Linked DNA regions of Homo sapiens: all the other regions are linked to region 1. Evidence: promoter capture Hi-C in 16 types of primary human blood cells and fetal thymus (Javierre and others, 2016). All regions are on one chromosome and are shown on one strand. The core of a region is centred on a gene start or on the middle of the fragment in contact, and the rest is flanking DNA. Distances in the headings are between cores, read along the strand shown. Region 1 holds the start of KCNH2 (potassium voltage-gated channel subfamily H member 2). Region 2 holds the start of LOC107986858 (a long non-coding RNA gene). Region 3 holds the start of LINC00996 (long intergenic non-protein coding RNA 996). Region 4 holds the start of GIMAP8 (GTPase, IMAP family member 8).

Region 1 (6,878 bases), core at 2,705-5,204:
CGTTTCATTCAATCAACAAACCTTTCTTGGATACCTACTCTTTGCCAGGGTCTGTACAAAGACAGAATATTTACATTCATGGATTCTGCATTCAGCTGCCACTACTGTTTCCTTACTGTTTCCTGCCACTACTGTGTCCCCCTTGCAGAGATAATAAAATTCATAGTCCTCATCCCTCTGCAAATGGTGCCAGCCTGCTGCTCCACTGCCACCACATCAAATTATTTTGTCCTCAGACCCAATCTCCATTCTCCTTTCTTTATATATCCTTATGTTGTCTCTTCTATCTGCAATGCTTCTGCCCTGCCCCACCTCCAACGTTCAAGGACCTGCACTGAAATCTCCTTCCCTGGCAAGGCCCTCCAAGACTCCTCCGGTTGAAATTAACCAACACCTCCTCGTAATCCCACAGCACTGACTGCAGACTGCAGTTTCTGTCTGCCCACCGTCTCCCTCAAAACTCACTAGACTGTGAATCCCTGGAGGAGGGATCCTGGCTTATCCCTCTTGTCCCCCAGCAGTGTCTGGCACAGGGCCCAGTACTTAGAAAGCCCCCAGTAAACACTTGTCGATGCAACTAGTAGCAGAACCAGAATTAGAAGTCAGATCTCCCGAATCCTAGTCTCCAGGGCCTTACTTGCTTCTTTTGACACCACAAAGGCAGGGAAAATGTCCCACCAAAGGTGGGGATCAGGTTGTCCAGAGAAGACCTTGGAATGGACCAGGGGTTGGCAGGATTGCTACATGTGGAGCTGCAGAGGGCGATGAGTGAAGAGTGTCCTGGCTCTTGGCTAGGGGTTTCAGGCGGGTTCCTTCCATCCTTTCTTCCTTCTTTCTTTCCTTCCTACTTCCCTTCTTTCTATCAATAAGCCCTGATCATCCACTTCTGGAGGGGAAACATGCTGTTTCTTTGATTCTTTTCTTCTCCAACTCCAGTTCACATCTGAAAAAAATCTCTATTCTGGGGACCCAGTTGCACAGAAAAACAAAAAAAACCCACCGTGTTCAAGCATCAAGGGACCTGCTCACTCTGTTCTTCCTTCCCCAGGGTTTCCCAGGAACCATTGCTCTGTAACCTGTCTCTCCTGTGCCCAGCCGACTGGAACTGCTTCCCAATCCCCTGTGGGTAACCCCAGGCTCTCCTGGGCCTGACTTTGGTGGTGTCTTGCCTGGCCCGCTCCTTGGGGGACCTCTGGCAGAGTGGGCTTCCATTTCTCTTTCTCCTTCCAGGATGTCCTGGCTCCATGCCTTCGGACTGAGCAGGAGCAGAGAGCAGGGTGGGTAGGATGCTTTCTGCAGACTTTTCTCCCTAAATTGTTTCTTTTTGGGAGCTGGGAGGAGCCTGGATATCTCACTGTAGCCTCTCTGTTCCCTCAGTCACAGGCAGGGTGCGGGAGAGCTCTTCCCAGGAATGGTCTCTGAAATGGCTCTTGGAGCTGAGATGGGGGTGGGGCAGATTCTAGAGGCTTAACAGCCCAGCTCTTGGTATTAGGGTTGGGCACTTTTCTCTTTGTCCCAGATCTGGGGGTAGCAGAGGTGGGAAGTTGAAGGCAGTGGGGGCTTCTCCATCAGCTCATCTGAGGCCCAGAAATGTTGCTTTGGGGAGAGCTTGCCCCCTCTCACCGTTTCTCTTCCTCAGCTCAATTCTTGAGTGTGGGGGCGGCTAAGTGGGTCTGCCTTCAGGCTCTACCCTGAGCCTCCAAGGAAGTCAGAAATCTACATTCAGCTTTGACTTCTGAGTATGTGGAGTGGGCTGGGGGGAGAGAGGGAGAGATCTGTCTCTCCTCAGCTTGAGGGAACAGCTCTCTTCTTGCCTCTGTGCACAGAAGGAGGGCTACCCCGTGCCTGGGCTCCTCTCTGTTTGGGAGGATGAAGGGCTCCTCTGACTCCTGTCTTCCCTTTGGGATAAGAGCAGAGGCCTGTCCCAGCAACACGGGTACAGGAGTGGAGGACAGCTGGCCAGCTCAGATGAGTGGCTCCTTCCCTTCAGGGCCTGGCTCTCCCTCTCCCTTGGTCTGGAGAGAGGGGGAGGCTACAGATGTCCCTTTCCCTTCTTGCCCTCCCATGCCCATTCTCAGCTGCTGGCCTTTGCTCACTTTCTCTCCATCCCCTGGCCTGGACAGGAGGACACTTCACTCACACATGAATCATCCTGGATTCATGGTAGGCAACCCAGCAGCCAGGGGTGGCCTTGGGGCGTGGCGGGGGCTGGGCCAGTCGTGGACTAGGTTCTACCCGGAACCCAGATGTGTTGATGCACCTGATGCCAAATGCTACACCAAGGAGGAGCTTGTGCTGTGGAAGGCCCTGGGCCCCCGGGGGGGTGAGTGAGGAAACTGCTGGCAGTGGAGAGGGCCTGAGGAATAACTGCACAGGCAAGAGCCTCTGGACTTTTTTAGCATCAGCTGTGGAGCCACCTCCTTCTCTCCCACTGGCTGCCTCCCTGAGTCACTGCCCACCCACCAGCAAATAAAAAAGAGTGTCATCTGCTGGCCAGTGGCCCCATTTGGCCCCAGTGTTTGCATCTTTGTGCTCCTGGGTGGAAGGTGAGAGTCCGGGTAGGGTGGTCTCACGACGACAGTTTTCTGCGCCTTCCTCCTTCGGGACTCCGATTCCTTCCCTGCCCTTTGTTCTTCCCCTCCCCCCATGATGGTTCTCGCTGGTGACAAGACCCAGCCCCTGCTCCAAGGACAGAGGCAGCTGCAAGCCCTCAGGAGCCCCCACATGGCCCCATCCATCTAGACAGGTCTCTGATCCGGCTGCAGGGAGGGGACCCTCGGCTGTTCAGCTGCGACTCCTCCCTCCCCGCCCGCCCACTCAGCTGTCAACACTCGCCTCCCCGCCCTGGCCTTCCCGGGGCCCTGCCTGACTGCTAAGTCCGAGGACACCGCGCCCGGAGACCCTCACTCAGACGCAAGCAGGCGATGAGCAGGCGGCGGGGCAGACACCCCGCCTGCCCTTGAGCATCCCTAGGCCTCCTTGCCTAAATAAGGGAGCCGCAGCTGGAGCGAGCCAGCTGGCCGGGGGGAGGGGCCTGCGGCTAGGCCAGGGCTTTCCGAGGGGCTGGGCCGTGGCCGCCGCCGCAGGGCCCCGAGCCCGCCGATTGGGCGTGCAAGGCTGGCCCCGGGCTGCCGGGGGAGGGCGGGCCGCTCGCACCCGGGGATCCCCTGGTTGGAACCTCGCGCTCAGGGACCTCTCTTTGATCCTGCAGCTAGGAGGCCGCAACTGCTGTCAGAATGTCCCTCTCTGTGCAGCTCCTATGCAGAGCCCCACAGAGGGCTCTCTCTCTCTCCGTGTGTGTGTGTGTATGTGTGTGTGTGTGTGTGTGTGTGTGTGTGTGTGTATGTGTGTGTGTGTGTGTGTGTGTGTGTGTGTGTGTGTGTTGGGGCAGGGGGCGTGCCCCTTCTAAGTTTAACCCTCCCTTATTTCAGAGCTCTGCTGCTCTGGGGCCTTCAGATTGTCTTGCTTTTCCTATTTCCAGGGTCTCCCTTGACTCCGGGCTCGTCTTCGAGGGTCCAGGCGTTGCCCCGGTCACCCACAGTAGGCACTGAGCGCGTGCTGTGTATACCAAGCCAGTGCTCGGCGTGGTGGGGAACCAGGGCATAAGGACCCGCCGTTTCCCTTCAAATCAGGTTTCTTAGTCGCTAATCTGGGGTGGGGGTGGAATCCCTTCCCCCATCCCGGCCGCCTACAAGCCGGCCATGGCACCTGTCCTCACGGTTTCCCCTGCCTAAGGGTCCCTTCCCCCTCTTCTGGGCGCGCGAGTCCCAGGGGCTCCTTGGCAGAGCGAGGGGCTGGCGTTGGGGGAGCACTCGGCGCGGCTCAGCCAATGGGAAGGTCGGGCGCGCGCGGTGGGGCGGGATGGGGGGGGGAGAGGGCGGTGCTGCGGGCGCGCGGCAGGCGGGAGGGGGCCGGGAGGCGGGGGCCGGAGCCGGAGGGGCGCGCGCCGCATTAACCCTTCCGCGGCCGGGCCGAGCCGCAGGCGCTGCCCGAGCCGCGGGCGCTGGAGCGGCTGTCGGCGCGGTGGCAGGCGGGAGCCAGGAGTCCGGGGCTCGGGCGGGCGGAGCGCAGCGCGGGGACGCGGCGGAGCGGGCCCCGCGGCTCGGCGGGGGCCGGCAGACAGGTGTGCCGGCGGCGGGCGGCTCGCGCTCAGGCGGCTCCAGGCCGGGCCCGGGGTCCGGAGCGGGGAGCCGGGAGCCGAGCGAGGACCCGGCGCCCGCAGTCCAGTCTTGGCCGCGCCCGTGCTCGGCTTGGCCGCGGGGTGCGGGGACCACGGCCCGGCCGGGCCACCCGAAGCCTAGTGCTGGGCCGGGCCGGGCCGGGGTGGGTGGGGGCCCGCCCGGCCCGCCCATGGGCTCAGGATGCCGGTGCGGAGGGGCCACGTCGCGCCGCAGAACACCTTCCTGGACACCATCATCCGCAAGTTTGAGGGCCAGAGTGAGTGGGGGAGGGGGCTGAGCGGGGAGGGGGCTCTGGGGGCGGGCCGAGCTCTTCCGAGTGTGGATGGGGGGGCGTGCCCGGGCCGTGTGCGTCGGCAAGTGCGAGTCAATGGGGCCTGGTGGGCCCCAGGCTTTGGCGAGGGGACGGCGGGGGCAAGGCTTGGTGCACCGGGGCCGTGGGCACCGGGCCAAAGGGTTTGGGGTTGGGGCTTGGGGCGGGAAACTCAGCTCAGGCTTTTGGGATCGGAGTGTGTGTGACACGCTGAGTGTGCAGGGAAGGGATGTGGGATGGAGTGTGCAGGTGTCCCCAACTCTGGGTGCGTGGACGTGGATGGGGCTGTGTGCAAGGGCATAAGAGTGTGTACGACCCAAACCCTGGGATCCCGAGAGTCCAGCGCGCACACTGGTCTTGCCAGATCTTGACTGTGTTGTGCCGGAGGGACTGAAAAGCCGTGGATGCAGGGTCAGCTCATAATCTCTTCTTGTGTGTGCCGTGTGTATATAACCCTGAGCCCATGTGTCACCCGTGAGTTAGACCCTGTATGGGCGGTGGGGAGGTGTCTTTGACAAGGCTGCGAGCTTGTGGGCTCTGTGGAGACAGGGTGTCCTGGGGCTAGAGCTGGGCTTTGAGGGTAAGCAGCTCCCTGTGGTACCCCCAAGTTGTGGGTTTTCTTGCCCTGGAGACTGTCACCTAATTCCCTTATGGGGACCGGGAGTACAGCACCCCTAATGCCTGCCTGGTAGGGAGGCTTCTAGAAGGGTCCCAGATTAGGCAAATGTCCTGGGGGTGGGCAGCATTCATGTGCCTGTCCCTAAGGCTGCATGAGCCACAGTGGGTGTGACTGCCAAGGGCCCTGGGAGTTGGGAGAGGATGACATTCCTTGTCCATGACCCTGTGAGCACAGGACAACGCGTGCTTGTAACGGTGGTTGGGGGAAGGAGGGGTCAGTCCGATGGTCAGTATTGTGTGAAGCGGAGGAACAAGATGATCCTGAGGGGGTGGAGACAATGACACTGGTTGAGGGCCTCCCTGAGAGGTGGGGGTGGGCCCAGGGGGAGGCTGTGGGCGGGCCTACGAGGAGGCTGGGATGGATGTGGGGGGGGGTGCTGGATTCTAGCCCTACCTTTGCCACTGACTGCCATGTGACCTTGAGTGACTCTTCCCTCTTTGGGTCTCAGGTTCCAGGTCTGTGGAGGAGGGGCAGGCTTTCTGTCCCATCCCTGTATTCCAGGATCTCAGTGAAGGGTGTGTGGTGGGGTGGGGCATGCCTTCGAAGAAACTTGCTCTTCTTTCCCCAGCCTGGGAGAGAGGACAAGGGGTGGTTTTTCTTCTATGAAGCTGGGGTGTGTGGCTGGGCCTCTGGACTGCCTTGGACTGTGGCAGAGCTGGAGGCCGAGTTAGGGGGTCTTTTCAGGTGACAGGAAACCCTGACTCCTGGAATTGATGGCTGCCTGGGAGGTCTGGGGGGCCTTGGGAACTGGCCAAAAGATGAACCAGTTCCAAAAGGCAACTTTCTGGGGGCCAGGGGAAGGGAGAATCGAGAAAGGTGGGAGGAGGCCAAGTCCTGATGGCCTGGGCCTATCTCAGGGTGCCCTGCTGCAGCCCAGCTTTGCACGTAGGATTGCCTAGGGCTGCAACCTGAGGGCTATGCTTGCTGGGGAGGGGAGGGGAAGGGAGGGGGAGAATTCCAACTGCTACTGAAAGCCCCAGCATTACAGGCCAAAGTGGCCGGAAACTTCTGTTTATAAAAAGCTCTTATCCCAGGAGCATCTTGCCTGGCACAAGTGAGGCTGCTGCCTGCCTGCTGCTCACTCGCCAGCCTGGCTCTCCGGGCAGGCCTGGAGTCAGGGAGCCAAGTCTGGCAGAAATGGAACCATGGGGGTGCTCATCCAGGATGAGGCCAAACTGAGGAAGGCCTCACATCCCTGGGCAGGTCCCCTTTCTTGGGTCTGTTTTCCTACAAGTGGGGCCAAAGTCTCAGGCCCCGCCCAGGCTCCAGGTGTGTCCAGGGTTTGGAGCTGCAGGTCCCTCTCTTTGCTTCCTATGACCTTGGGCTTCTGCCTGTGACCCTCAGCTTATTCTTCTGCCTCTGCCAGACCAAGGTTCAAAAGCTGGCTCTATCATTTACAAGCTGCAAGACTTGGGCATGGTGCCGAACTTCTCTGGAGCCTTGGTTTCTTCATCTATAAAAGGAGGATAATAACACCTACCTTATGGGGTTGTCAGAGGACCTAATGAGATGCAGCGTCCTTAGGTGTTCAACGTGTAACTTCCCTCATCCTCTCTGGCACACCCACCCCTCAGCTCCTGACTGCCCTTGGGGCGGGGGTGGTGTGCAGAAGTTCTAGGGGGTACTGACCTGGTAGGATCCTCAGATAATCGGGGAGTGATTTCCTAGGGAGCCTCAGGATAAGGAGTGGCTCAGGGAGCGCCCCCCA
Region 2 (6,878 bases), core at 1,788-4,287, 630 kb after region 1:
CCTCTGTCTTAGTCCATTTGTGTTGCCACAACAGAATACCTGAGACTGGGTAATTTATAATGAGCAGGAGTTTATTTCTCTTGGTTCTGGAGGTTGGGAAGTCCAAGGCTGAAGGTCCAACATCTGGTGAGGGCCTTCTTGCTGCATCACCCCATGGTGTAAGGGCAAAAGGAGGGCAAGACAGAGAGAGAGATTGAACTTGCAGCCTCAAACACTTTTATTTTTTATTTATTTTATTTATTTATTTATTTATTTTTTGAGACAGGGTCTCACTTTGTCACCCAGGCTGGAGTGCAGTGGCATGATCTCAATTCACTACAGCCTCAACCTCCTTGAGGTTCAAGGGATCCTCTTGCCTCAGCCCCCCAAGCAGCTGGGACTACCACTATGCCCAGCTAATTTTTTTTTTTTTTTTGTATTTTTTTTGTAGAGATGGGGTTTTACCATGTTGCCCAGGCTGGCCTTGAACTCCTCGGCTCAAGAGATCTGCCTGCCTCGGCTTCCCAAAGTGCTGGGATTACAGGCATGAGCCACAGCTTTATAATGGAATTAATCCTCTTATAAGCAGGAGCCCTCGTGCTCTAAATACCTCTCATTAGGCCCCACCTCCCAACACTGTTGCACTGGGGATTACGTTTCCAAAACATAGGCTGGGCACACCGGCTCATGCCTGTAATCCCAGCACTTTGGGAGGCCAAGGCAGGCAGATCGCTTGAGACCAGGAGTTTGAGACCAGCCTGGCCAACATGGTGAAACCCCACCTCTACTAAAAATACCAAAATTAGCTGGGTGTGGTGGCGTGTGCCTGTAATCCCAGCTTCTAGAGAGGCTGAAGCAGGAGAATCACTTGAACCTGGGAGACGGAGTTTGCAGTGAGCCGCGATCACGCCACTGCACTTCAGCCTGGGCCACAGAGCGAGACTCTGCCAGAAAATAAAAAGGAGGGAGGGAGGGAGGGAGGAGGGAAGGAGGGAGGGAAGGAAGGAAGGAAGGAAGGAAGGAAGGAAGGAAGGAAGGAAGGAAGGAAGGAAGGAAGGAAGGAAAGGGAAAGGAAGGGAAGGAAGGAAGGAAGGAAAAAAGAGTTTCCAAAACAAGTTTTCTGGGGAGCACATTGAAACCACAGCACCCTCCCTGGCCCTGGCTTCTCCCCGGACCCACCAGCTCTACCTTATTCCTTCTTTCCCTCTGCCCTCCATGTGCTTCTACACTCACTCCACACTGAGACAGTTCTTGCTAAAGTCACCGCTGGCCTCGCTAGGTCCAGTGCTTTCTGGCATCATCTTCCTAAACCTCTGGGCACACACTGCCAGCCGTGCCTCCTCCTCCCAACATCCCCTTCCCCACCTCTGTGACACCACATGCTCCTGACCTGCCACTGAGCTCCTACCGGCTCATCTTCATCCACCCACCCCTCTTACTCCATGTTGGATCCCCTCCCAGTGAGGTCCTAACCTCTTCCCTCCTCACCCTCCTACCGCCAGGGCAAGCTACTTCCTTCTCCAATCCCCAGTCTCATCTCTGCTCTGATCTCGATCTGCATGCAGATAACACAGTTTCCCATCTGTAGCCAGAGCTCCACCAGCCCTGTTCAGTCAACATCTCCACTGGCATGTTCCACAGACACCTCACACTTCTCTCCTCACTGCCCTCCTGAGTCTCTCTCTCCCTGAGGATCAAAACCATGTCTACAGCTGTTCAAGCCAGAAACCTGGGATTCACCCCTCTCTGTTGACCTCGACCCCAACATCTTATCAATCACCAAACCCTGGTGCTTTAGTCCTGAGGTATTTCTGGACTTTGTTTTCCCATCTTCACTGCCTCCAGTTTTGTCCCTGCCACATTCGTCTCTCACCCGGACAATCACAATTATCTCCTGCTGAGATTTATTCCCTTTTATCCACTCTCCACACAGCAGCCAGAGTAAGCTTTCAGAAATGCTATTGGGACCAGGCGCGGTGGCTCACACCTGTAATCTCAGCAGTTTGGAAAGGTAAGGTAGGAGGATCACTTGAGCTCAGAAGTTCAAGACCAGCCTGGGCAACAAAACAAAACCTCCTCTCTCCTGAAAAAAAAAATAATAATAATAAAAACTAGCTGGGTGAGGTGGTCCTGTAGTTCTAGCTACTGGGAGGCTGAGGCAGGAAGATCAATAGAGCCTAGAACATGGAGGCTGCAGTGAGCTCTGATTATGCCATTGCACTCCAGCCTGGGCAACAGAATAAGACTTTGTCTCAAAAAAAGAGAAAAGAAAAGAAGACAAAAGAAAAGCTGTTGCTTTGCTTTCTGATTTTAAAAGTATTAAGGCCAAGCACAGTGGCTCAAGCCTGTAATTTCAGCACTTTGAGAGTCCAAGGTGGGTGGATTGCTGAACCTAGAAGTTTGAGATCAGCCTGGGCAATGTGACAAAATCCTGTCTCTAGAAAAAAATACAAAAATTAGCCTAGGATGATGGCATGCACCTGTGGTCCAAGCTACTTGGGAGGCTGAGGTGGGAGGATCGCTTGAGCACAGGAGGTTGAGGCTGCAGTGAGCCATGATTGAGCCACTGCTCTCCAGCTTGAACGACAGAGCAAGACCCTGTCTCAAAAAATAGTTTTTAAAGTTTTTTTATATTTTAATAGACAAATTATCCACAAGTTATAAAAATTTAAAAGTACAAAGGGAGTACAGTTTTCCTGCCTCTGTTTTCCCCAGCTGGACAGATCCTCTCCTCACAGGCAAACACTGTTATAAGTTTCTTGTTTTTCCCTTCTAGAAATATTCCATGCATTTACAAACACAAAAATTTGTTCATTTTTAGTTTTAGTTTTTACTCACATAATTGGTAACACATGCTCTGCCTGCAATATCCAATATGGTAGCCACCAGCCACAGGTTTAGGAACACTTGCCATGTGGCTGGTGTGACTGAGGTATTTATTGGAATGCTAAAACAAGAGATTGATGCTTCCAATGTTGCTTCATTTCACTTTAGGGTACATATTGAAGATATTTGTGCTCAGTTTTCTGAAATTTATTCTATGCAAGTCTCATGGCTACAGCCATTAAAACTAATTCCGTATTTAAGTGGAAATGCTATGAATCACTGCTGGTTTTATGGAACTGTTGAAAGCAATGAAAGATAATGAATTTAATGATCTTTTCTTTACCAAAGCTCATTGTCAGGGTTGTAGAAGAGTTCTCCTAAGATTTACTGTACTTTTAACTAACTCCAAGATTTTCTTGAGACAGAAGCCATGATTACCAAATATACAACAATAAGTATTATTATTATTTGTTTTGGGGACAAGGTTTTGCTCTGTGGCCAAGTCTGAGAGTGGTGGCTTGAGCCTATAATCCCAACACTTTGGGAGGCTGAGGTGGGAGGGTCATGTAGTGGCATGATCATAGCTCACTGCAACCTTGACTTCCCAGGCTCAAGTGATCGTCCCCCGCCAGCCTCCTGAGTAGCCAGGACTACAGACTTTTGCCACCACACTCAGCTAATTAAACTTTTTTTTTTTTGTAAAGATAGCCTCTCTCTATATTGCCCAGGCTGGTCTTGAACTCCTGGGTTCAGTGATCCACCCACCTTGGACTCCCAAAGTGCTAGGATTACAGGCATGAGTCACTACTCTCAACCCAAATATTCAATAATTAAAAATAAAAAAGTCAGTGTTTTCTCACCAATACCACACTACATATAAATGGGCTAAATTTGAATATCCAAGGAGATGAAACCTCATTTGTGACCTAGCCAGATAAATATAAGCATTTCAAATTAAATATTTTCATAATACTGACAAATAATTACAATCTACATACTTTTGTCACAAGAATCAACATACAGAGGTTTTAATTGTAATATACAGCATTGTGTAAATTGGCAAAATTTCAAGAAAAATGTGAAGAATTCTTAGTTGATATTGATAAATTTAGAATGGCTTTTGAATTTATGCAATATCATTTTTGAATTTATGCTAATGGTACCGAATTGACACAAGTTGGAAAATGTACTTAACTTCAATAGGTGTAGTTTTGCAACTGATATGCTCTTACTTCAAAGTCAAATCACTTCTTCTAAAAAAAACTATTTTTGTCAATGTGGTTGCAAATATTAAAGGACAATGTTTTTTGGTACTCAGTTCAGTTATTGGAAAACTAAGCTTGGAACAACTGGATACGTGAGTCTACTTTTTTAGCTGTCATGACCAGGAAGATCATTAACCATCATTAAATAGTGAAGTCCTGTTGTTGCTCCCCTGGACTGGGACATGTTACCTGGAGCTGAGCTCATGAATATGCCCTAAGTAGTCCTTTCACACATCCACACCTATGAGTGCTCTGCAGTAGGACTGTCCACCTCTTTGGGGTGCACCTCACATACCTACACCCAAAGTGAATTTTGTGTGGCCATTTAAGTATAGCCAGACTGGCTCCTTCCTCACCAACTCCCACCACCCTGCTCCCAACCTACCTCCCCACCTCAACTGCCTCACCTCCCCTGCAACAGACCTGATGCAACTTTCCCCCCAGCCCCCACCAAAGTCAGGATGAGTTTCCCGCTTTGCTCAGCTCAAGTCCTACCTTGTCCTGGAAGATTTCTCTCCTCACCCATCCTCAGGACGTCCCCCAGCATGGGTCTGTGGGGGCCAAAGGAAAACTTCCCCTTTGCCTTCTGAAGGTTTGCTGAAAAATCAACTGATGAAAGGCAGATTAATAGAATAAATTGATTCATTTATATTTTAGAGACAAGGTCTTGCTCTGTCCAGAGAGGCTGAAGTACAGTTTCATGATCAGAGCTCACTGCACCTTTGAACTCCTGGGCTCAAGCAATCCTCCTGCCTCGGCTTTAACAGGAAATATTTATTAACATACATGAGAGAGAACCACAAAGTGATTACCCCAACCCCTCAGTGGGATACAGAAGCTTATCCACCATCTTGAGTTTATACAAATATGGGGGCTCAGATAGTGGCAAGACAGGTTATGGAAGGGAGGGAAGAGGAGGCCTGGTTGGCAAAGGGAGTCTTGTTAGGTAGATGACACCTCACAGGTAGCAGCCCTCAGAAAGAACTGAGGGTAAATGTTTCTTTCAGATCTGTAAAGGTGTCAGCCTCTCAGTTAATCTTTCCTAGAGTTAGACAAGGGAGAGCCTCGGAGAAAGCCTGGCTACATCAATGCAGATTTCCTCTACAGATGCAAATCTCTCCACAAAAAGACAGCTTTTTGGTTATTCTATTTCCAACCATTCTGAACAGCCACCTTGAAATGTGTCAAAGAAGTATTTTTTGGGGTGAAATATTTTGGTTTCCTTCAAGTTCTTGGGCTGGGAAACATCTTTGGGTGCATCTTTTCTCTCTAACCCCATCTAAAGCTTTCAGGGAACACGGATCCCATCTCTTTCTGCTTAAGGGCGGCTGAGTAGCTCACAGCTGGGGAGTGAAGTACCCTAAGTAGTGGTGGGATTTCAGACACCTGGAAGTGGTTAATGGAAGCCGAGTTTCTTTCTGGTGCCCCCAGAGCACACTGTAAAGGAAATTCTCAGCTCTAAGTGGAGAATCCTGGTTAGGGGTGCGTAAGTAGGGGACAAAAGCCTTGTGCTCGGCACTGGACATCAGTTGCTTTTCATGTTTCTTCATTTAATCCTCAAAACAACTCCTTAAGACAGAGTTTCTGATCCCCATCTTACAGATAAAGAAACAGAAGTTCAGAGAGAGCCATGAAGTTACATGAGATCCTCTACTTCAGGTGATCCCTGCGGTGTGGGAACCAGAGGCATGGTGTTGGTGGTTACTGACGTGCAAAGTCTCAGAGCTTCTTCATCCTTGCTCCAGCGTACCCAGGAGTCGAGCCGGTATTTGGACAGTTTTCCTTGAGTTTCTGCTCACCTTATGAATTCCATCATGCCGTTCTGCCACACCCGAAGGCTCCCCCACTCCCCATGAGAATCTATCCCACGGAGAATGGGGCACGAGGAATGGTCAGGAAAGGCAGATGCAGGATACACACTGGACATCTTTGCTGTCGATCAAGGTTGCAGGCGCCAGAGTCCTCCCTAAAGGAGAGACCTTCCTTCTCAGTGTGGCTCAGGGAGTGGGAGGCAGGATCAGGTGTAGGGACCTCGAGGTCTCATTTGGTTTGAGAATGTCTGTATTTAGGGGAAGAAATCCCAGGATGAGTGTCTCAGGGACGCTGGGGAATGGTCCCCCGTAAAGGACCCAAGACAGGGCAGCCCTGCCTGGGTAGGAGTGGGGCACAGAAAGTCCTTGGGGGAGCAGAGCAGCGGAGAAGAGGCCCGGGCCGGCCGAGGCTGCGGAATGCTCAGGCCCGAGCCAGAGGGAGGTGGGACCGAGGGCTGCGCGCCTGGGCGAGCCGCCTGCAGCCGCGGCCAGGGTCAGGGTCATGAGGGCTGGATCGAGGGGAAGGAGGGGGGTGGGATGGGGAGGGAGGGCGCGGGAGGGCATCCCGCCCCAGAGGCCGGTCCCACTGGGGAGGGGAGGAGCCAGAGTTGCTGGAGGGGGTCCAGGAGGTGGGGGTGGGAGGAGGTGGGGGCCGCCCCGCGAGAAGAAGAGCGGGAAGAGGCGGACAGCGAGGCCAAGATTTCAGCTGCGGGACGGTCAGGGGAGACCTCCAGGCGCAGGGAAGGACGTGAGGAGGGGAAGCGGGCTGGGGCGGCAGCCGGGCGGAGGGGCAGCTGCGCAGGCGGAATGAGGAACGCCTTTGCTCTAAGGCGACCACCCTGGCAGCTCTTCACTGAGGGGCCTCGGTTTCCACATCTGTCGCTCTCCGGTCCCAAGACCACCAGGACCGACGGGGCTCTCCGGGAGGGTCAGCCCCTCCGGTGGCCCCAGTCATGCATCAGGGGACGGATCAGAAGGGCTAGGAAGAGGGGTCGTG
Region 3 (6,878 bases), core at 1,282-3,781, 550 kb after region 1:
TGTCCCCACCAGCACCCCAGACACCCACCTCAGCCCAAAGAATGGCTCAGAGCCACGCTTTCTAGGCCATGAAAGGAGAGGGGCCCTTTCCCTCGTGACCCCAGAGCAGATGGCAGAATACAGTCTAGGAGGAAGTTCCAGGAGGAACATGAGAAACCTCACAAGCCTCGTGCAGTTTAGTTTCTGATAACCACTTCTCTTTCTTTGTCTCATGTTTCCCTTCCTTCGTGAAGTTCCTAGAAAGTGTAAATTTTTCCTTACCTTTAATTTTTTCTTTAATTTTTCTTTACCTTTTTTTTAAGTTGCCATCTAATCTGCCCTTGAAATGCTCTATTCTGTGCCAGTTGTCCATTTCAAGATGGAGTCACTTGTTTCAAACCCAAGCAAAGTAGAGTCAGGAGCCTAAGAAGGGAGGGTCCTCATGCACATGCGCCTACAATAACAACGATTACAGCCAAACACAGTGGCTCACACCTATGGTCCCAGCTACTTGTGAGGCTGAGGCGGGAGGATCACTGGAGCCCAGGAGTTGAGCCCAGGCTACAGTAAACTATGATCACGTTGCTGCACTCCAGCCTGGGCAACAAGGCAAGACCCCATTTCTAAAAAGAAAAGGAAAAAAAAGGACTATTACAAAGACTCTCTGAAGGCTGTGACACACATATGCCTGTAATAAGGACTATTTCCAAGGGCCTTCCCAACTGCAGCCTGCCACAGGAGTCACTGGACGGCCGGCCACATGTTGGAGCACTCTCACCTCACATGCCATCTCCACTAAGAATCTGACCTCAACTCCTGTGCCCAAGTAACCAATGTTCTCTTTGTTCAAAAACAACTCAACAACTCCTGTGCACTCCTCCTTTTGCCTTTATTTTTTTGAGACCAAGTTTCGCTCTTATTGCCGAGGCTAGAGTGCAATGGTACGATCTTGACTCATTGCAACCTCTGCCTCCCAAGTTCAAGCGATTCTCCTGCCTCAGCCTCCCAGGTAGCTGGGATTACAGGCATGTGCCATCATGCCCAGCTAATTTTGTATTTTCAGTAGAAATGGGGTTTCACCATGTTTATCATGCTGGTCTTGAACTCCGGACCTCAAGTGATCCACCCGACTCAGCCTCCCAAAGTGCTGGGATTATAGGCGTGAGTCACCACACCCAGTCTTCCTTGTGCCCTTAAAAGCTTCCCCTTGCCTCAGCCTCCTGGATGCGCCCATGGCTGCTGTGGCACGGGCACTCCGCATCACAATCATGCTGCTCATTTCCAAATAAATTCATCATCTTTGGAGAATCGCTTCTGTTTGTTATTTAGGTTGATAATTCTTCAAAAAAAAAAGTCTATGACTTCAGTGACAAAGAGGGAAGCTGGGAGGTCGGGAGGAAGGTGTGTTAGGAAGAATGTGTCTGACTCTGTGGTTAGTTGGGGTGGGGACCCTTCAGCCTCCTGAGTAGGAGCGGCAGGCCTGGGAACAGGGGAGTCTCCTTCCTAGGTCCTATTGCCTAGGCCCACATGATGCCTACCTGAGGCATATGCACAAAGAAAAAGTCCTTAAAATTTTGTTTTTCTCTAGAACAACCTACAGTCCTAGGGACAGACACACCATCCTCCTAAGTCCTATCACACCCTGGAAAATTGTAACAAAAAGGTGACAGTCTCCTTGGGGCATTGCCTGCAGCCTTAGCTAGGGGCCATCCTAGTTATCTCAATTACTCATCCAATTTGTGATCAGCCCTAAGTTCTGGCTCACTCTAGCTCTCTCCTTCGACTTCCTCATCTCCCAAATGGAAGTGACTACCCCGACCTACCAGGCTGTTGTGGGAACCGAACGATGTGGCAGAGAGTCCAGCTCAGCTTCCTACCGTTCCACGAGGGCCACTGAAAGGCCAGTCCTCTTCAGCCTGCAATGAGAGAGATTGAAAGTGGAAGCAGGTCTAAGCTCACAGAATCAGGAAGAAGGTAGAATGCTGAATACACTTCTTCCTCCAATCCCAAATGCTAGAACTGTGTTTCTATCGAAGTTTTGTCATCGACTTTTTAGAATCAGAAAAATGATTAAGAAACATGAGCTGAGATATGCAGGTTCCTTGAGCAAATAGGATTTTGTACAGCAGACACCTCCTGGTGTCTCATTTCCTGAGATCCCCAAAGTGAGAGATAAGAAAGCTGTGGCCGCAGCAGAGACTTGAAACAGTGACCAGAGACCAACTCTTCCACAGGAAGGTGTCTGCACAGAAGACTCACAGGGGCAGCTGACAAAGATCTGTCTATAGCCTGGTCCACAATAAAGATCAGGGGTTGGACAGGGTGAGACACCCAACACGGTGGCTGGAGCCACCCCCTGTAACTATCAACAAACTTGCAGCCCAAGGTCGAGCACAAATAAGTGGGCACAGAAAGACACTTCAGGACACGAGCTACAGAGAGGCAGCCACCTGGCCATCCTCCAGCTGCCTGAGGTTTGCAGATGCCCTTGATGCCACCCCCTATCCCTCCCAAGCACTCTCCTCTCCGTGCACACAGATGCTTAACAAGAGCACCTATGACTCTCCACAGACCAGAGCACCAGGGACACAGTGCCCCTGGGAGATGCTGCCACCAAGGCCAGATGGAAAGAACACCCCTGTGTTCTTGCTCCATGGTTGGCATCTGAGACGTACCTGCCAGGGTTCCCCAGCAGGATCAAGCTCAGTGGCCCAAAGTGGAAATGAACTTACCAGTCATCCTCCAGTGGCCTCCTCTCTTTCTCACTTTCCCACTCCCCCACCAGGGTTTCTCGGGATCCACTCTCAAATAAACTACTTGCCCTTGAATCCTTAATTCAGGGGGAGTCAAAACAAAGACGACCAATCAGAGACAAATATTAACCATAATGATGTCTATTACTCAGATAGGATTGAAATCAACTCAGAAGGGCAGGAATGTGTGAAATCTTCTCCCTTTCCCTTCTCTGCTGAGTAATTGACTCTCATGCCCTAGAGCCTTCTCTACCCCTCTGTAAGCACGTGGATTCAAAACTGAATGTCCAAGTTCAAACCCAACTCCCCACAACCCAACGTTCCCAAGTCATCTAGGGAAATTTGCTTCACCTCTTCAAGTCTCCATTTCTCCAATGTTAAGACAGGAGAGTCTCAGACAGTTCACAGCGACCAACCCACCCCTACTCGGCCACCACCCACATAACATCTTACTGGGAGATTTCTCCCATTGAGTTCAAGTTCATAGCTGGAGAATATGGAAACTGCACACTCACCATGGAAGATAACACCAAGAAGTCTTTGTCTTTCCTGTCTTCTGCTTTCATCATCTGCCCCCTCCCACCAGACTGTGTTTCTCCATGACACCCTGTAGTTTGGCCACAGCCAAGCGGATCTGAAGACCATTGCCTCCAGAAGTTGGCATGACGATTCTAAGTTCTCCAGGTGGGAGAAGGAGGGGGATTTACTTATGTTTTTAAATGTTCTAGGACTTGTGTGTCCTGTTGAACTCCAAGATCTGTGGAAAAGGGAGTCACAAGAAAGACAAAATTCTCATAGTCCAGCTTCACAGGCACAGAAGGGCCTCAGCACCACCATGGAGCAGGCCCAGACACAGGGCTGAAGTGGGAGCTGGAGTCTCCCCAGCACCTAAGCAAAGCCTCTCTTCCCCACAGCTCAAGGTTCCAACAGCCCCTCCTTCTCACTCCTTTTCCCCCTTCAAGTCTTCCAAGTATGCACTCCAGACTGGTGTTGGTATTGAGTGTGGGCCGATGAAGGGAGAGTGGGGTGACAGAGTTGGTCTGTCCCTTTTCAATAACTGCCAAGAGGACTGTTGATGTTCTCTCTAGAATGTGAGGTACTTGACTGTCCTCGACTTTGAATAGAATATTCAAAGTGGGAATACAAGCTTTCCCACTCAAAAGCTAATTACACCTAGGAAAGAAAATCAACGGTATTTTTTATAAGCAGTATACAAAATAGTTGCCTAATTTTCTTCTTTTCCTTATAGCCCTGTGAAACTGTTTTGGAATGCACGTCATTTAAAAAAATATTCATAACCCAGCACAGTGGCTCATGCCTGTAATTCCAACTCTTTGAGAGGCCAAGGCAGGAAAATCACTTAACTCCAGAGTTCCAGACCAGCCTGGGCATAATAGCAAGACTCCATCTCTACAAAAAATAAAAACTTAGCTCGGTGTAGTGGTGCATGCCTGTAGTCCCAGCTACTCGGGAGGCTGAGGTGGGAGGATCACTTGAGCCCAGGAGGTTGAGGTTGCAGTGAGCTGTGTTTGCACCACTGCACTCCAGTCTGGGTAACAGAGTGAGACCCCCATCTCAAAAAAAAAAAAATGTATCTCAAGACTTGTTCACTTCAAGAAAAGTTTAGAGTAGCCCAATCCCCTGAGGAAATTGGAACCAAGGGACGATGAAACAAGGGTCGTATCTCCTTTTTGGCTTCTCTGCTGATGTGGTTCTTATCTGAGAATCATATAAACTGTTCCCAGTGGGCAGAGCAATGGCACAGCCAGGAGTGTCTGGGGAAACTGAAGCATCCTGAGCCCCCTCCCAAGTCATCTGTGTCTGGGTTCTCTGCTTATGCCCCACAAATAGCTCGTCCAAGTAGGACATTCGAACAAGCACCCCGGACACAGAATGTAATCCGCACCACAGCCCAGCATATGGCCTGGCTTTTTCTCTTCATCTTCATCCTTGTATGTCTAAAGAGAAATGTTTGTGTGGGAGGAGATGACATTTGAGTTCGTTAATTCAAAACACTGGTGGTAAGATGACTTATTCCAGGAACTTCAGTTCTGGATTTCATCAAATAAACTCAGGGACTCAACAGAAGAAAGTGACCGTCTTGTGAGTCCACTGAGCTCTGTCTCCAGAACAGAACCCCAAGGAGTCGGACACAGGAGCAGCAAAGTGCAGGCTGCCCACTGCATCTGCACCAAGGGGAAGGCACGGTCTCTGCAGGCAGCTGCCTCGTACCCCAGCAGCTGCACGTTGCTGCCAGCGCCTGGGGACCGCTGCCTCAGATGGAGAAGCTGGAACTCAGATCCTAGACTATTCCCCTGGGGGAATGCGATGATGGTTTCCAAACTTCACAGGTGCAGGCACGGTTCAAACCTCTGCTTTGCCCTTCCTAACTGCCTGAACTTGAGCAAGTGACCTCCACCCCCAAGTACTTCAGGTTCCTGATCTATAGAAGGAAGATCGTAACGATAATGGTCTTGTGGAGTAGGATGAGGATTAAATAATCTCTCTCCAGTGGGGACTGTTTATTATCTCACACCCCATGTACCCCAGGGACAGAAAATGGGGTTAGGGGGCAGGGCGTGGTGGTGCACACCTGTGGTCCCAGCTGCTCTGGAGGCTGAAGCAGGAGGATCGCTTGAGCCCAGGAGGTCGAGGCTGCAGTGAGCCATGATTGCACCACTGCACTCCAGCCTGGGTGACCAAGGGAGACCCTGTCTCCAAAAAAATAATGCGGTTAGAGTTAGCATCTCCCTTGCTCCTTGGCTTTCAGGCCATACCTCTTCTCCCTTTTGAGAACTAGTCGGCCTCTTCGAGTGTTAGCTGCTGGTCTCTTCCCTTCGTGCTTTGGGGTATGGGCGTCCAGCTCAGTCCCCCCGCCGTCCCCAGGCTTTGTCCCAGGACATGCCGGGTGTATTTGTTCTCCATTGCTGCATAATAAACCACCACAAAAAGTGGCTTGAACAACACAGACTTACTCTCTTAGCGTTCTGGAAGTCCAGAGTCTGAAATGAACCTACAGGGCTAAAATCAAGGTGTCCACAGGGCAGGTTCCTTCTGGAGGCTCCAAGGGAGAATCTCACTGTTCCATGTCTCCTTCAGCATGAGACAGAGAGAGAAAGAGGGAGAGGTGGGGGGTTGGTGAGGTAGAAGGTGCCACACACTTTTAAATGACCAGATCTCATGTGAACTCAGAGCAAGAGCTCACTCATCACCAGGAGGATGGCCCAAGCCATTCATGAGAGATCTGCCCCCATGGCCCAAACACCTCCCACCAGGCACTTCTAACACTGCAGATTACATTTCATTCAACATGAGATTTGGGCAGGGACAAATATCCAAACTATATCAGCTATTAAAGTCCCCAAACCTTCCCTTTAGCTTCCAGTTGCTTTCCTTTGGCTTCTGGGGCAGCCTGCAGAGGGCAAGTGCCTTCGCTCTGAGAGCAGCTGAGTAAGGACACTGCCTTCTCTGACTATATTGAGTACCAGCCCCCCATTCACCAGGCATCCGACTCTCTGCCTCCAAACAATTGCTTTATGCAGGTCCAGGGGCTGGGCCTGGCTATTCTATGCCATCCTTGGGAGTCCTTCCCATCGTCAAGGATTTTCTGAAAGGTCAAGCCTGGCTGCACTGGAGAAGGGAATGTGGAAGCCACAGCCCCTCGTAGCCGGCAGCCTGGGCAGCAACTGGAGGAGGTGGAGCATTTTCCTCTCCCTGTGGGGCTGAGGAATGTGCAGAAAATGGGTCTGCGGGTTCTTTCCAGGTTGCTCAGGAAGGGGTCTAGGGATGTATCTGAGGGGACAAGGGTTTGGGTAGGGACCCAGGCCAGGACTCCAAAGCCCCAGTGCCTTGGCCCTGAGAGCTTGCCTGCCAGTGATTTCTACCTTGGCTGGAATGCACTTTGCCATTTCCTCTGTAGACACTTCCTTGGGCAGATGCGGCCATCTGGTCTACTCCACAGGAGGTGGGAGTGACAGCAGCAAATAAAGAAGACAGGAAGAAGGCGGCCAAGGGCTGCGTGAGTGAACACAAACAGCAGGAGGGCACTTTGCCCAGTGTGGCTTCTGAATCATGCCTCTGAAAGTCCCTGTGTGTGCACACAGCTGTGGGCAGTGCTTACGTTTCTGTGCATGTGTCTGTGGAGAG
Region 4 (6,878 bases), core at 1,286-3,785, 530 kb after region 1:
TAACATTGATTCTATCTGATATTATTTATATTTTATAATTATTTATTAATTTTATTTTTAAATGTCTAAATGTTCTCTGTACTACCCTTGGTACAAAGCTCCATAACAGCATGTGCTGAAACTCCAAACATGCCTGTTTTGTTCTGTGTCCCCAGGCCCTAACATTGTGCCTGGCATGTAGTATATGCCCAATACGTGGAGGTAAAGGAATGAACGATCACAGGAGAGACAGAAATGTGAAGAAAAGAAGAAAAACGGTTTTTAGAACTGAGAGGGAGGCCGGGCGCAGTGGCTCACGCCTGTAACCCCAACACTTTCAGAGGCCAAGGCAGGTAGATCCCTCGAGATCAGGAGTTTGAGACCAGCCTGGTCAACATGATGAAATCCCCGTCTTTATTAAAAGTACAAAAATTAGCCAGGCATGGTGGTGGGTGCCTGTAGTTCCACTCGCATGTATATATATATATATATATATATATATATATATATCTCACACACACACACACACACATATACACACATATATATACATATATACACATATATACATATATACATACATATATACATATATATACATATATACATACACACACACATATATATGCAAGTGAAGTGAGATGTCTCTGTAAATTAATTTAAGAAAAAAAGACACTAGTGAGAAAACAGCAAGCTGAAGGAAGCAGAGGCCTCCCACAGGTCTGAAGAAGAAAGAAATTTCTTTCCCAATTAAGCGACACAGCCTTGCATGGTTCCCCAGCAGAGTATGACCAAACCAATGAGTCTTGGCTGGACTCCTGCCTGCAGCTCCACATGATGTCAGGACCTACACACACACACCCACATACACACACGCACATGCACACTCCTACCACACATACAGCTTCCCAGCCAGTAGCACTTCACCCCAACATGTAGAAAGTGCACTTAAGGACAAAAAGGTACCCAAACTCACCCTCACTCACGCTCTGCCAGCCCACATTTCCCTCTGCTCAATTTCCCAGGCCACTCTGGAGACCCCAGCAGAGCAACTGAGAGAAAAAGAGAGCGTTCTTCCTATAATTCACTGAAGACTGTAAAGGCAGCCTCTGCCTCCTTCTCAGGAAACAGCCCAAGGCAAACGTGGACTCAGGCATCTGAGCACAGCATCCAGCCATGCGGGGATTCATCCCACATCTAATCGCAGTTCCCACTTACAGAGCAGGGTGGTTGGAGATGCCTCCAGAGCCCAGCGTGGGGAAGACCTTAGACCCAGCCCAGCAGGGCAACCATCAAGAGGAAGGGAAGAGGTTAACTGCTGAGGACCAGGTTGGCTGAAATGTAGGTGAAATCAGAAATATTGCTTTTGGTAAGGTCTTGACCCCTCCAATCCCTCCAATGCCCAGTTCACAGAATCCTAACTGTGCAAGGGGCAGGAAAGATCAGAAAAGCAGACGTGGAAAAATCAGCATCCCCCACCCCCTGCTTTGCGGGAGGAGCTCCGCTGGCTTCCTCCTGGGGGCTGCTCTGCGGCACCATCTAGCTTCATGGGGCATCTGACCGGCTGCTTCCGCCTGCTTCTTCCTCCCTTCTGCCAGTCTCAGCCCTCCTCCTCTTCAGGGCTCACACCCACTCCCCGACACGCCTTCTTTTAGGACAGCCACTCTCATAGATGTCTGGGAATATGCCTCTGTCCCCATCCTGCCGAATCTACTCCCCAGCAGGCTGGGGAGACACGCTTTGGACCAGGAGGAAAGCTTCCCAGGGCCCCTGCCATTCAACTCTGCCATTCAACCCTGCCATTCAACCCAGCCTCCTCTCCCATGGCTGAGCAGGCTGCCTTCCCGGTGCCAAGCCCATCCTCCCCCACAGCCATGCACCAGTGCACACACATCTACACACGAGTGCACATGTCACACATGCACTGCGGTCGTGTCCCATGGGGTCCCACGGCGTCCCACAGTCTCCGAGGCTCCGCAATCCACCTGGCTCTATCCCTCCATCTCTCACCTGGGTGGAAGCAGCTGCTGGTCCCCCAGGGCACAGGATGTGAGGAAGGTGAGGAGGGTGAGGGGAGAATGGCCGGAGAGCGACCCTCTTCCCAGGCCCTGGTCTTCCTGGCAGGAGGGTTTCGGGTGTTTCTGCAAAGGAAGAGATTTCTAGAAATAGCCTTCACATCCACAGAGGCATAAATGCAGTCGGAGAGGAAGTTCCCTGTGCAGGCCACAGGCTCAGAACCTCGAGAGCCGTCGGGGCTCAGGGAGGAGCCAGCATCGGGGACACACGCGCCTTCCCTGGGTGCTGAGCGCCTCGTGGGGTCACAACACAGCAGAAACTGAGGAGCCCGGCCCGTCCCGCAGCTGCAGACTGAGAGGAGGGAGGAGAAATGACAGCAGAGGCTTGGCCAGGGGCTGGGGCGCCGGGGCCGGTGCCAGGCTGAGCTTCAGAAGGGCTGCAAGAACAGGGGCTTGGATAGGGCAGGAAAAGGACGTCAAGCCAGTTCCTGTTCCTGAGAGGACAGAGATTGTGGCGCCGCTACAAGCTCTGAGCAAAGCCAGCTCCGGGCCTCTGTGTGCCCTTAAGTGGCCTTTAGGACTTCCTCTCACAAGTCCTTCCTCGCTTCCCTTCCCTTCCCTAAAACCCACAACCCGGGGAACTCCAAGCCTGACAGACCAACGCTGCTTCTCAGGGAATGAATGCTTTTCCCCAGCTTGCAAAACGTGAAATGCTAGACTTCGATGCTTTCAAATATTTCACAAAATGAAATCCCTTTTGTGAAAGAACATAGTGTCCAAACTACCTGGTCTCTACTTCATAAGGAAGTCAAACACGGAGGAAGACTTCTTAAAAAATGTTTACTAGGGTAAAAATGATGTAACATTAATAGTACCATCCTAACCATTTCTAAGTGTATAGCCCACAGTAGAAAGTACATTCACATGGTTGTGTGCCAGATCTGCAGGACTTTTCATCCTGCAGCACCCAAACTCTCCCCATTACACCCCAACTCACCTCCCCGAACCCCAGCCCGGGTAACCACCGTTCTACTTTCCGTTTCTATGATTTTTTTTTTTTTTTTGAGACAGAGTCTTGCTCTGTCGCCCAGGCTGGAGTGCAATGGTGTGATCTCGGCTCACTGCAACCTCCACCTCCCGAGTTCAAGCAATTCTCCTGCCCCAGCCTCCCGAGTAGCTGGGATTACAGGTTCCCGCCACCACACACGGCTAATATTTGTATTTTTAGTAGAAACGGGGTTTCACCATGTTGGCCAGGCTGGTCTTGAACTCCTGACCTCAAGTGATCCACCTGCCTCAGCCTCCCAAAGCGCTGGGATTACAGGTGTGAGCCACCACACCCGGCCTGTTTCTATGATTTTTGGCAACGTCAGATACTCATGTGAGTGGAGTCCCACAGTGTCTGCCCTCCTGAGACTGAGCAGAATGCCCTAGAGGTTCATCCAAGTGAGTGCGGGACCCTCTGCGCTCTGCACAGCAGGGCCCTCTTCACAGGATGCAGAGGCTAGGGCCTCGAGGGACTGGAGCTCAAGTTAGTTTTCCAAATGTCTGAGGTGGTGCTAAGCTTTCCAAAGGGACCCCGCAGAAGGAGGAGCAGTGGGGGTGGCTGAAGTAGAGGGGCATGCTTCAGATATGAAGTCTCTACAGTAGTCAAAACCACAGGCTTTGGGGAGCTGCTGTCAGCCTATCACATCCCGAGGGATCCACCCTCCCCCTGGACTGGTCTTCATGCGCCAGCCTTGAGGACTGCTCTACCTTGTTATGAACCTGAGGGAAACCCTGGTTATGCTGGGATGGCTCAAGAAGAGCTTTGGGGACACACAGGACACATCTTGATGGGGAAAGCTGACAAAGCCCTTCCCATGTCCCACTCTACCTGTCTCCTCATTGAAAGAGGATCTATTTTGGAAGAACCCCACCCTTCCTTTACAGTAGGTCAACGCACATAAAACCAACTCATTATAATGAAAAGACAAAAACCCGAAGCCAGGTACTGCAGTTCATCCCCGCTGGGGTACTAACAGAGGCAGAGGCTCAGCAAGAAACTGTTTCCCCAAAATAGAGAAGAAAAGGCTCACTCATTCTTAAATGAAATATTAAGCATCCAGGGATTGCTCTAAGTAAAACTGAAGCTGCAAATAACTCCTCAAAGATTCAGCAAGTCGATTATTTGCTGAGTTGACCATTTTGCAAAATGATCTTTCAGCAAATCAGCTCCTAGAGAATTGATTTCCGTGCAGAAGGCAGGCTGCCGGGTTCTGGTTTGGCACCGATCTGAGGCAGGATGGGGGCTCCCTGCCCCCTAGTGGCTTTGTGGCTAATGACAAGTGCAGCAAAATGCTCCCCAGCGGGCCGAGAGCCCTGACTCAGCAGGCAGGTGAAACACTGGGGAGAAGTTCTAGACTTCCAGAAATCGAATAAGCCAGGAAGACACATGTTATGCAAGCAAGGAGAAATCTACCAGGACCAAGCACCGTATTAGACACAGAGGGCACAAAGATTAGCAAGGCAAATACCTGACTCAAAGGGGCCCTAACTCAGTCTGAGGATGGGGAAGAGACTACGCTGTGGTCACGAAACGAGGTAATGTGCTGTGATAGAGATGCGTCCAGGCTGCCACGCAAGTGAGGAGGAGACGATGTAAACCCCGCAAGATGGAAAAACAACCAATTGGGGAAATAAACTTATAAACAAATCCGTAAACCCGCCATTTCCTGTGGCAGGTACTGACGGAGTGGTAGAGACGGAGTTTCACTATGTCCTGCCATGGAGAAGATTGTAAGGCACAGTGAAGGGAAGGCCGCGCGGGAAAGGTAATGCCTAAGTCTTGAAGGGCTGTAACATTTGCCTGTCAGATGACGGAGGGAGGACGCCTCAGGCAGACGGAGAATGGCAAACGCCACCGGCATCGGGGCCCTAAGACAGCCCAGCAGGTGCGAGAAAACGCAGTCAGGCTGGAGACAGAAGGACCGGTCAGAGGCTGCTGCAGCACCCAAGCTAGAAATGAGGAGAACTAACGCAGAGACAGCAGCAAGGGGAACAGATTTATTACAAATAGAAACAATAAGGCCGGGCCTGGTGGCTCATGCCTGTAATCCCAGCACTTCCTGGGAGGCCGAGGCCGGCGGCTCAACTGAGGTCAGGAATTCGAGACCACCCTGACCAACATGGTCAAACCCCGTCTCTACTAAAAATACAAAAAAATTAGCTGGGTGTGGTGGCACGTGCCTATAATCCCAGCTACTCAGGAGGCTGAGGCATGAGAATTGCTTGAACCCGGGAGGCGGAGGCTGCAGTGAGCCAAGATAGCGCCACTGCACTCCAGCCGGGGCAACACGAGTGAGACTGTCGCGGAAAAGAAAAGAAACAATAAAAGAATTTCTTAAAAAGATGAATTCACAGTTGTTAACACGATTGACCCAGTTGCCACATCAAAGGGAGTGCTATTCACTGCAGACATCTTTGTTATTTTGGAAAACATTATTATACGTTATTTCATTTCAAAGATGGAAAATGTGTGTGTTTACTACAGCTTTGGTAGATGGTAGTAAAGTGTCTTGTGACTAAATTTGTATATTTTGACAAGTTTTTGATGGAATTAAGTATCTTGTTCAAATGGAGTCCATGTCTGTTATAGTAATTCAGAAATAATATACTTATTTTAAAACGTTTAGCTTCTCCTGTAATTCCAGCTCTTTGGGAGGCCGAGTCGGGTGGATCATTTGAGGTCAGGAGTTCAAGAGCAGCCTGGCCAACATAGTGAAACTCCATCTCTACTAAAAATACAAAAATTAGCCAGGCATGGTGGCATGCACCTGTAATTCCAACTACTCGGGAGACAGCTTTTTCTGATTCTCATAAAGGGCAGTGGTCACCCAGGCTGCCTGGATGTGGAGCAGCCTGGCATCACAGTACTTTCTAGTGGCCTTTATGGAGAGAGGGCTGAGAGGCTGGTGTTTTGCTAGAGATGAGCACGTCGGCATGGGGATGCTGGGCTTGAGGCTTCTAGAGACAGAGCAGGCAGGGGCATCCAAAGGTCTTGATTGATTCCTGTGTCCCAAGGATTCTTCATGCCAATCCTCTCACTGAAAACGACTAAAAATAAAGAGGATAAAAATATTTCTAAATCTTCTCGACACCATCCAAGGGCCAATGAGATGATAAAGAATGACTTTCTTCCAGCCTGCACTCTTGCTGGAGCGCAGGCACCCTGTGCCCAGCTGCAGCCCTCAACCCCACTCTGGACCTACATTCAACACAGCTCCCCTGGGCTTTGCTTACAGGTTTCCTTTTGCTTTTCTTGTTTGTTTTGGGTTTGGTGGGGGTGGGGGTGCTGCTATTGCTGCTGCTGCTGGTGGTGGTTTATTGCCAAGTAAGACAAAGTGCCCTCTTTTTATTGCAGTGGTGACTTTTCTTCACCTTCTTAGCTGGCAGCAAAGGCCTAAAAGAGTCATGTTGCTTCTGGAAGATTCTAGAGAGATACAGGCAGTCATAAGAGGCCCACAGACAATAATCAGGAGTGGAAATAGAAAGTTCTTAAACTCTGAGTGATTGATAGTGGTAGCAAACAGCTTTGTGAAGGTAAAAACTATGAGTCAATGGTAGTTAAAAGCTGGCAAGAGACCTGATTTTGAAATGAAAAAATCCACCAAAAGAGAAGGATCACCCAAACAGAGAGGGAGGGGCAATTCCTGTAAAATTCCACAGCAACTTCATATGATCCCAGGGTTTTCCCAGCACCTCACTACTCATTCTTCTTCCTGGGATTTCCCCAAATTCTCCATATTTTTTCACCTATAAAAAGTGAGGGTCGGGTGCGGTGGCTCACCCCTGTAATCCCAGCACTTTGGGAAGCCAAGGCAGGTGGATCACTTGATGTCAGTA

What was found. Contacts are between HindIII fragments. The CHiCAGO score rates a contact against its expected background, and 5 or more counts as called.
Region 2: a fragment that was not itself captured here is called in contact with the fragment with the promoter of KCNH2 in region 1 in 2 of 17 cell types (activated CD4 T cells and non-activated CD4 T cells); the score reaches 8.4 in activated CD4 T cells.
Region 3: a fragment that was not itself captured here is called in contact with the fragment with the promoter of KCNH2 in region 1 in 1 of 17 cell types (non-activated CD4 T cells); the score reaches 6.7 in non-activated CD4 T cells.
Region 4: the fragment with the promoter of GIMAP8 here is called in contact with the fragment with the promoter of KCNH2 in region 1 in 1 of 17 cell types (total B cells); the score reaches 5.0 in total B cells.

The regions. Positions count from the first base shown.
Region 1 is chr7:150,975,397-150,982,274 of GRCh38, reverse strand. It overlaps KCNH2 (potassium voltage-gated channel subfamily H member 2), which reads left to right and starts at 3,954. Exons shown (of 15, transcript NM_000238.4): 1 at 3,954-4,437. The coding sequence starts at 4,362. LOC124901776 (a long non-coding RNA gene) reads right to left here. Exons shown (of 3, transcript XR_007060592.1): 1 at 6,800-6,878; 2 at 5,564-5,739; 3 at 4,920-5,430. RefSeq lists a silencer at 2,937-3,286 and an enhancer at 5,656-6,582. The HindIII fragment of the contact is 24,052 bases long and covers 1-6,878 here.
Region 2 is chr7:150,341,329-150,348,206 of GRCh38, reverse strand. LOC107986858 (a long non-coding RNA gene) reads right to left here and starts at 6,362. Exons shown (of 3, transcript XR_001745420.3): 1 at 5,870-6,362; 2 at 4,566-4,679. It overlaps RARRES2 (retinoic acid receptor responder 2), which reads left to right and starts at 6,578. Exons shown (of 6, transcript NM_002889.4): 1 at 6,578-6,629. RefSeq lists a silencer at 340-572. The HindIII fragment of the contact is 2,219 bases long and covers 1,928-4,146 here.
Region 3 is chr7:150,428,754-150,435,631 of GRCh38, reverse strand. It overlaps LINC00996 (long intergenic non-protein coding RNA 996), which reads right to left and starts at 1,978. Exons shown (of 4, transcript NR_034033.1): 1 at 1,803-1,978. RefSeq lists enhancers at 1-86, 1,738-1,837, 6,637-6,806. The HindIII fragment of the contact is 2,700 bases long and covers 1,182-3,881 here.
Region 4 is chr7:150,446,287-150,453,164 of GRCh38, reverse strand. It overlaps GIMAP8 (GTPase, IMAP family member 8), which reads right to left and starts at 2,535. Exons shown (of 5, transcript NM_175571.4): 1 at 1,990-2,535. It overlaps LINC00996 (long intergenic non-protein coding RNA 996), which reads right to left. Exons shown (of 4, transcript NR_034033.1): 3 at 6,276-6,465; 4 at 5,025-6,089. The HindIII fragment of the contact is 1,822 bases long and covers 1,739-3,560 here.